Regions from separate parts of the Homo sapiens genome. Here all the other regions are linked to region 1. Evidence: promoter capture Hi-C in human tissues and cell types (Jung and others, 2019). All regions are on one chromosome and are shown on one strand. Each heading gives the region's core, a stretch centred on a gene start or on the middle of the fragment in contact. The rest is flanking DNA. Distances are from core to core; before and after follow the strand shown.

What was found. The method cuts DNA at HindIII sites, captures the fragments that hold promoters and counts their contacts. A contact is called where the count stands out against the background at its distance.
Region 2: a contact is called between a fragment that was not itself captured here and the fragment with the promoter of HCN4 in region 1, in 5 of the 25 tissues and cell types used here (bladder, mesenchymal stem cells, mesendoderm cells and 2 more).
Region 3: a contact is called between a fragment that was not itself captured here and the fragment with the promoter of HCN4 in region 1, in 1 of the 25 tissues and cell types used here (spleen).

The regions. Positions count from the first base shown.
Region 1 is chr15:73,367,420-73,370,458 of GRCh38, forward strand. It overlaps HCN4 (hyperpolarization activated cyclic nucleotide gated potassium channel 4), which reads right to left and starts at 1,539. Exons shown (of 8, transcript NM_005477.3): 1 at 67-1,539. The coding sequence starts at 851. The HindIII fragment of the contact is 7,967 bases long and covers 1-3,039 here.
Region 2 is chr15:73,423,151-73,426,189 of GRCh38, forward strand. All of the region lies in intron 2 of LOC124903571 (serine-aspartate repeat-containing protein I-like), which reads left to right. Among named protein-coding and RNA genes, the nearest start is that of REC114, 18 kb to the right of the region's middle. The HindIII fragment of the contact is 4,140 bases long and covers 1-3,039 here.
Region 3 is chr15:73,328,712-73,331,750 of GRCh38, forward strand. It overlaps HCN4 (hyperpolarization activated cyclic nucleotide gated potassium channel 4), which reads right to left. Exons shown (of 8, transcript NM_005477.3): 4 at 862-1,080. Among named protein-coding and RNA genes, the nearest start is that of MIR12135, 30 kb to the left of the region's middle. RefSeq lists an enhancer at 1,181-2,084. The HindIII fragment of the contact is 9,003 bases long and covers 1-3,039 here.

The DNA of each region.
Region 1 (3,039 bases), core at 289-2,788:
GGGTCAGGAGGAGGCATGCCTGCCACCGCGCAGGGCACCCACAGGATCATCGCTGTGGCCCCTTACCTGAAGTCACTGTAGGGGTGGATAATCCAAAATCCGGCCGACTTGACCCTCTCCTGTTCGCGCTCCACGGCTTTCTGGCTGCCGAACATCCTTAGGGAGAATTTGTTGACCCCGGGTTGGAGCATGGCCCCGAACTGGCGCTGCATGAAGCCGGCCTGGCCCAGGCGCACCTCGGCCTCCGGGAGGATCTGGTCGCCGGCAGCCGCGCCTCCCTCCACTTTGATAGCGGTGTCCACCGAGGGCTGCTCGCAGGAGGCGGAGGCCGGCTGCGGTGGCTGCTGGGGCGGCGGCGGCGAGGCTGCGGGCTGCGCCGAGGCGCCGGGGCGCTCGGGCTCGGCCGCCAGGCCTGGGGGCGTCCTGTCCTCGCCGGGGGACGCGTCGCCCTCGGCGATGAGCCGCCGCTCCTCCGCGGAGTCATGCAGGTGTCCGTGACTGCTGCCGCTCCCCGTGCCGCCGCTGCCGCCGCCCCGGCTGCCCAGCGAGGCCAGGCTCCCGCGGAAGCGCCTGCAGTCGCCGTTCGTGCTGGACTTGCCCGCGCCGCGGGCCGGCCCTTCGCTGTCCGCTGCCCCGAGGGCCGAGCTCCGGGACTCCGTGCCACCCGCGGCCGCCGAGGGGGAGGGCGAGGGCAGTGGCCGCAGCCGGATGCTCCTGCGGCTGGGGTCTTGGCGGCCCCCGGCCCCCTCCTCCTCGGCGTCCTCTTCCTCGTCCATGATCCACGCCTTGGCCCCCACCTGCTGCGGGAGGCTGTAGAGCCGCTTGCGCATGGACGGCGGCAGCTTGTCCATGGCGCCAGGGGCCGGGGTCGGACCGGGCCGGGGGCAGGAGCGCGGCGCCGCGGACGGGCTCCAGGTCCGCCCGCCGGTCAGTCCGCCCGTGGGGACGCGTCCTTTGCCGCCGGCGTGGGGGCAGCCTCAGGCGCCCATGCTTGGGCAGGCTGCGCGCCGCGGGGAGGATCCTAGTCCCGCTCCGAGTCCCCGGGCTCGCCGCGCTACACCTCCTCCCGGGCCCGGCTGGGCGCGGGGACCCCGCGCTCCCTTCTTGCCTCCCTCCCTCCCTCTGGCGTTCAGGGGCGCGGCGCGCCGCCCGGCTCCAGGCGCCCCGCCCCCGCGGGGAACAATGGGCGCCGGCCGGAGAGGCTCTGCGGCCGCGGCGCTCAGGGAACCGCTCCGGAGTGCAGAGCGCACGGCCCGCGCGGGTCCCGGGCGTGCGTCCCGCGGGAGGGCTGGCTGTCCGTCTGTCTCGCCGCCCGGGCTTTGTGGCTGGCCACCCGCGAGCTCGCCTCGCCTCCTCTGCCCCGGCCCGTCCGGCCCGTCCCGGGGCTCCCGCCGCAACCGAGCGGAGCCCAGCGACCCGCCGGGCTTACATCAGCGGCCGCCTCCCCCGAAGCGCCCTCCGGCAGCGCTCGGGCTCCCGCGCCCCGGAATATTCATGAAGCCGCCGCAGCTCGCGGGTTGCCATAGGAGCGGCTCCAGCAGCCGGGCCTGCCTACCTGGGCTTCTTAAAGGGGCAGCGGCGCACGGGCCGGGGGCTGGAAAGGGGCGGGGGGCGGGCCTGGCAAGGGGCCCAGGTTAGACCCTCGCTAGACCTTCGGGGCCGGGGTGAGAGGTATCCACACTGCTGCGCCCTTAAATCTCTTTCCTGGGCTAAGCTGGGAGTGCGCCCCAAGTCTGAAGCTCCGGCTTCAGTTGCGAATTCCCCATCCTAAGATTGAAGGGTGGGGGGTGGCTTCCCAATTTCTCCATCACCAAGCTCTGGGCTCGCCTTTCCCTGGCATTTTTGCCCCTCAGCTGGGTCTCCGACTTTCCTCTTGGGAGGCGACCGGGTTCGTCTGGATGCAGAGTCCCGGCCTTCCCGCAACCCTCCTGGAGAGGGGGCTTCCGGAAATGCGCCGCGTCGGGGAGGCTCCCACGGTTTTCCTGTGACATGGGCAGGGTGCGAACCCCGCGCCAGTCTTTCCCCTGCAAAGCCTCGCAGCAGCCAGGCAAGGAGGGCGTGGGGAAACAGGGAGACACGCACAGGGCGCGCGGGTGGGACCCAGCCCTTCGAGGTAAGACTTCGAGGAAATGCGCCGGCAACAGTGACGGATGCGAGATCCGAACGCCGACCTCCGCACGCGCCTCTCCCTCGGTAGTTCCGAGAAAGGGACAAGCCGGCTGCAGCGGGGAGCGGTTGGGCCGGTTCCTCGGACGCCCCAGCACTCTGGAACTGGCTTTGGAGCCCCTTCTCCCTGTGTTCCCATCCACATTATGACACCTACTATGTGGACCCACGCTGGGTGAGTTCCTGTTCCACCCAGTCCCCTACCTGCACCCCCAAGCAGCTGCACAGCCCCCACTCCCTTCCAGTCTGCAGCCCAGCCCCCTTCCCCCCAACCCCCGCCAAGGATCCAACTGTGTGTCCTCTCTCCCAGTCTCTCCCAGTGTACAGTGTCCGGGCTTATGGACAGATTTCACTAGCTCAGCCTAAGGTATAGCCCTACCCCCTCCAACACCATGGACAGCCTGATACCCCAGATTAGCTCAGAAATGGATAGGGGGACAGATTGGGCATTAAGGGGAGGGGAGTTGTCCAGAGAAGGCTGGAGCCGAGGTTAATGCTGGAGCGGACACACAGCAAAGTCTCACAGGAGGGAGGCAAAAAGGTCCCCTGGCTCTGCCATCTCTCTGAGGAATAACATCAAGTTTTTCTTCAAATGATTTTTTTACTCTCATTCTTAGCCCAATGTGACCACTTTCGCCTCCTCCATCCAGAGTAGGAATTTGGAGAGCAGGATGCGGGGCGGGCAGCCTAGCAGGGGCTCTTCTGCTCTACCCACTGGACCACAGGACCTCCCACAGTGAGAGGAATGACTAGGGTGATGACATCACTGGTAGCTGGCATTTTTACTTTTGAGCAGCTCTGAGCTGACAGTTCTCTGCACAGATGCTGGAAGCCTAATCCCTGAGTGTCCTTGGGTCTCCTTGAGAAGAAGTG
Region 2 (3,039 bases), core at 279-2,778, 56 kb after region 1:
GATGGCCTTGATTTCCTGACCTCATGATCCACCCACCTTGGCCTCCCAAAGTGCTGGGATTACAGGCGTAAGCCACTGCGCCCGGGCCACCCCAGTCACTTCTTACTGATATCTGGTTGGCAAATGATACAATTTCAGAACCCCATATTGAGGGTCTGCTTCATAGGATCACTTTTGGCACCACCCTTCTTAGGATGAGAAAAGGATTTGAATGCAAGGAGCTTATTTGGAAGGTGTTCCCAGACCGCACTGGTATGAAGCTAGAGAAGAGAGAAAAGTAGAAGAAGGAAGTCAAGAGAGGCTCTACTAATGAGCAGATTTTCACCATGGACACCTCCTCCTCCCATTCATCACTGACTAAGAATCACTCCCCAGGATTTGCACTCCCCAGTACTTCTGGTTCAACCCATGGCATGGACCATGTAAAAGCCCACAGGTAGAGAATCACAGGTTTACAATGGGATACTATTAGTGTGTATGGTAATGATGAATGCTGGTGGGGTATGTGTGTGTCCTTAACTGTATATACTATCGTAGGCTAGAAAAAAAATTGTCCACCTTAACCACCTCACACAAAAGGAGATATCAAGAAAGCTTATCTTTTTTTTTTTTGCTTGGGCAAATGTGTGTGTGTGTGTGTGTGTGTTTGTATGTGTATGTGTGTGTCCCCTTTGAGAATCTGCAACCATAGATCTTTACTTGACATAGGCTTGCTATTTGAATTTATACTCCTTGATGGTCCAGAAACCCAAGGTAAGAAATTAATGTAAAATTTATCCCTGGCTAAGTGATACCCATGGAATGCTCAGCAAATGTGCATGAAAAAATAAAAAAAATTATATGACTTTAAACACCCAATAAAAGGAGAAATGATTTTTGATAAAGCCAAATGATGTTACATAATGCAGCCATTAAAATGATGCTTAGAACCGGGAGCTTGGGGGAGAGAGATAAAGAGAAGTTGTTTAATACTTGCAGAGATTCCGTTCTGCAAGATGGAAAAGTTCTGGAGATCTGTTCCACAGGAATGTGAATATACTTAACACTACTGAAGTGGATACTCAATAATGGCTAAGATGGTGAATTTAGTGTTATGTGTTTTTTTACCGCACAGGAAAAAAGAGAAACAAAGAGTTCTTAATGGTGAGGAGAAATGCTTATGGTAGAATGCTAGAGAGAAGGGGGACACAAAATTGTATAGACCATCTTATCCATCTTATCTCATCTGTGAACAATTACATATAATAGTAATTATATATTTTATATATAATATATTATATATATACATATATATGTATATATAACTACAGTGGAGGGAAAAGGTTTAAGAAAATATTTTAAAATACTAATAAAACTGCCTGGCAGAATTATGGGTGATTAATTTCATTTTATCTTCCTTTCTAAAAAAATCTATTTCAGTAATGTATCACTTAGGATGCTTTCAGTTGCAAGAAATGGAAAATCCAATTTGAAATGACTTAAAAAATGAAGGGGATTTATTGGCTTATGTAACTGAAAAGGCCAGAGGTGGGGTAAGCTTCAGGGCTGATTTGGTTCAGATGTTCTAGTGATGTCATCAGGAACCCATTTCCTTCCCTCTTTCTGCCCTGCCATCTCTGGCTCCAGCTTTACCCCAAGGCTGACTCCCTTCATGGTACCAGAATAGCTGTAGCAGTCCCAGGCTGTGCACCCACACACCATGCTGTCCCAGGGAAAGGACCCCTCTCTTGGCGGCTTTCAAAAGAAGAGGAAATTTCTTTCTCATAAGCCACAGATAACTGATGCTTAAGTCTCTTTGGCCATATTGCATCACATTTCCACCTCCGATCATATTATCCTGATCGATCTTAGCTTAAGCAGATAGGCTACAAGGTGCAGAAGATACCTGAAAAAATGTCTGGGCATTGTTAGGAAGGGGAGAGAAGAGAATGAATGCTGGCTGGACAGCTAACAAATACATGTATTTAAGCCTATTCCAAAATTTTAGAATAAATTTGTATTTCTCTGGGAAGTTCAAAAACCACAAGTGTAAAAATGCTCTTTTATAGAATATTATATATAGTATACTATAGCATGTATTACATAAGTTTATATAATATAAACATACAATATGTAAGTTATAAGTTTGTTATATAAATATATATTTATTATAATATATGATATATATTATATATTTTGTACATAATATATATCATAAGTTTCTATAATACATACTATAGTATACTATACATAATATATTTATATATGTACTATAATAGACTATTATATTACAAATATAATATAAATACCATAATAATAATGTTCTTTATGCAGAAAAAGTAACAAACCACCTTTACCAGCCTTTTACATAGACTCTATAGAACGAGGCTAGCATTCTGAAATCAGCTTTAACCTGACATTACAATTAAGGGTGACATTAAAAATATTTAATGAGCAGTATGGCACAGTTATCAATCAATCTGAGTGGGCACCCAAACAATGGGGGAGAGGATGTCACTGGCCATTCCACTGCGTTGGTGACCTCAGCCACAATCACAGTCATTATTACTTAGCAGTCACCATTAGCTCAGAGTATGACATAAAACTGTCCAGTTTACCTTCAGCCACCAGTGCTGGACACCCACTAGCCAAGGGATTCTCACTCACACCCAGTCCAACACTGCCAGGACAGAGGGATCCCCATCACCAGACACACAGTCTCAAGGGAGACTAGGATTATCATTGTCAAACACCAGTGGAAGCATGGGCTAAAGAGAATAAAAATAAAATCCAGCAAAAGCCTCCCTAGTCTTCTGTTGCATTTAATGAAGAGATACGACATTGAAGTCAAGACAAACCAATGTCAAAATGAGCTCAATCATTTACAGCTGTGTCTACTCCACCTGGCCAAGCTTCAATGTTCAATCTACAAAAATGAGTAATACAAGAATTACCTCCAAAATTGGTTATGAACACGTAGAGGTAGTGTAAATAAAGTCATTAATGCGGGTGCAGCACATACTAGGGAGTTAATCAATGGTAAGTATCTTTTATTACCAT
Region 3 (3,039 bases), core at 253-2,752, 39 kb before region 1:
TGACTCCAGGCCACAGGACTCATTCTCTGTGGTGAGGGGGCTGCTGTTGAGACCCCAGGGAGAGATGAAGCTGGGGACGGGGGAAGGTGGTTGGGATGCAGAGAAGGAGCTGTGGCTTTGAGGTAGGCATTGATGACAGAGAGAGGCCAGGGATGGCTCCTAGTCTCTGGCCTGGGCATCTGGGAAGAGCAGAGACTTGGAGTAGAGAGAACAGGGCAGCCTTCTCATTACAGACATGAGGGGCGTGGGGTGTCCAGAGAGGGATGAAATAAACCACCTGGAGCTGAGAGATGAGGTGGGGCTGCTGATGCTGTGCAGGCCCCACTGTGCAAAGATGGGCACAGAGCCTGTGGGCCTGGGTGGTGAAACCACAGCACCGGGGCCCCAGACAGAGGGAGGGTCAGGGGCGAGGCCCGGGCCACTGGGGACTCCAGTGGCAGTGACTGGGAAGAGAAGCCAGCAAATGGGGGCAGGGGACTGGCCAGAGGGGCAGGAGCAACACCGCGAGAGTGCGGTCCTGGAGAACGAGTGAGCAGCCAGGAAGGGCGTGGTGACTGTCAAATGCCTACTGGAGCAGCACGGAGGGCACAGGGCCTCAGCCAGGAGCCACAGGCCCCAGTGACACTGGAGACGGGGAAGGTGGGAACAGAAAAAAAGACATGTGGAGGGGCCAGGCCAGGGAGCTGAAACTCAGATTCTCATCTCAGAGGTGTCTCCCTCCTCCTGCTCTTCCCTCACACTGGGAGTTCCGATCCTGTGGGGTGGGAGCAGGGGGCGGTTCCTGCTGGGGGCCCACTGGCTGGTGGCCTGTGCTCCCTCTTGGGAGGGACCAATGTGCGGGTGCTCCCTGGGTAGACCTACCTTTTCCTGGTACTGGCGCCGGGAGGAGTCCAGGGACTGGATGAGGGCAGTGGCGTGGCCAATGAACATGGCGTAGCAGGTGGCACCCACGATCATGCTGAGCATGGTGAGCCAGACGTCGGACATGCCCACGGGCGCCTGCCGCCCGTAGCCGATGCACAGCATGTGGCTCATGGCCTTGAAGAGCGCGTAGGAGTACTGCTTCCCCCAGGAGTTGTTCTGTGGACAGACGGATGGGTGGGGACAGTGGATGAGAGGGAAGGCCCTTCTCACTAGCAAGAAAAGGCCCTGCCACCTCCTCACCTCAACCTAACTTTCTCAGTGGCTGGGCCCAGGGCTCCCTAACCTTGCTGTTGGCTGAAAGCCTTGGGTGAGAAGCAGCCTGTGCTGCCAGCGAGTCCTCCTCTTGTGCCTTCCTCTTGCAATGGGGGCAGAGATCAGACTGGAAGCCCCAGTAAAGGTACGGGAGCCAGCGTGGCCCAGCCCCCATGGGGCAGCTTGGAGCCTCCTGGCTGGGTAGCAAAGGCCCCGGGCTGAGCCACCGTGCTGTCCTTCCCTTGCTAAAACAGCTCCACCCCCCAACCCCCTAAACAGCTGCCAAGTGAAGCCCATTTCCCCACTGACCTCAATTATAAAACCAGATATGCTTCCCTTGGGGGGACAAGCTCTGGCGGACTGAGCCGAAAAACACTGTCCTCATTTTGGATGAGCAAAAGTTAAAGCTGTGAGCTAACGGGCCTCCTGCATGAACCCTGCCCGCCTCTGCTAGGGCTGCGGCCACCAGTTCTCCTCCCACTACCCCCAAGGCAGACTCTCCGGAACACACAAGGCGTGGGGACAGGAGGAGGGAAGCTCTTGGCTATTTTTGTCTACAAAGCCAGTCGGTGTCTCAAGGAAGGCTCAGCGTGGGAACACTGGGATCGGAAGGGCCATCTCTTGAATTTAGTGCATGTGTGGGCCTGCCACCCTCACATAGAGAGGACACTGCCCCAGATGAGGGCCCATTGAACCTGACGAATGCCAGCACTGGCCACCTCCCTGGTGTCTTTCTGCTCACAGGGCAGATGCATGAGCCACAGTGCAGAAACCTACCCAGGCCCACAGAGCACCTGCCAGAGGCCCAGCCCCCAGGGGAAGGCGCAGGAGCCCGTGAGCTTCGAGCCATATTCAAGGTCAGCCAGACTGCCCTGAACAGAGCTGAGCTGGCTCCTTGGGTCTGATGGCTCAGTCTAGACTGGAGTGGGGACCAGGAGGGCTCATCCCCAGGGGTGGAAGAGACCTGGGTTCCCAGCCTTGGGGAACAGGGGTAGGCCCCCAGCGGCCTTTACTGCTGAGCCTCTGGGAACAGGGAATTCAATCCATATGGCTGATTCATTTACACTTAGCTCATCAAAAGGCTGTTTTGTAAAGGCCTGTTTGATGCTGAAAGATGCCTCAGGGTCTCTTTCACCTCTTTCAAAGCCAATTTTTCCTCCCCTGGGGCCCTGGGAATTTGCCTTCAGAACAAACCAAACTGACTGGGAGGAAGCCTGGGAGAGGCAGGGGTTCACCAGAGACACAGAAAGGCTCACAGATCCAGGGTGTCTTCTGTCCTGCCTGGAACCCACCTCATCCACAGGGGGACTGGAAACTCTGCCCTATGGCTTCCGAGGCCCCAAGTTCAACTTCTCTCACCCACCCTGACCCACTTGCAAGGTTGGAGGGATAGGGTGGGGTCAGGCTTCATCCTGCCTGCCCTCCCTATCGGGACTCCACCTCGGATCAGGATATGTTGGCGAGTGGGGGCAGCCCAGCTCTGCTGTTGGAGTAGAAAGTGACCACATATGACCTGGGAGTCTGCGTGGGCTGCAAATAGTACCCTTGAAGGCGTCTGTTTTCTTGGGCTCAGCTTTTTGTTTTTTATTTTTATTTATTTATTCCTTTTGAGACAGGATCTTGCTCTGTCACCCAGGCTGAAGTACAAGCGAGCTCAAGGGATCCCCCTGTACAGCCGGGACACATGTGCTTGCCACCACACCAGCTAGTTTTTTAAAAATAAATTTTATTTATTTGTTGAAGTCAGGGGTCTCCCTATGCCGCTCAGGCTGGTTTACAATTCCTGGGCTGAAGGGATCCCCCTGCCTCGGCCTCCTAAAGCACTGGGATTACTGGTATGAGCCACTGCACCCAGCCTCAGGC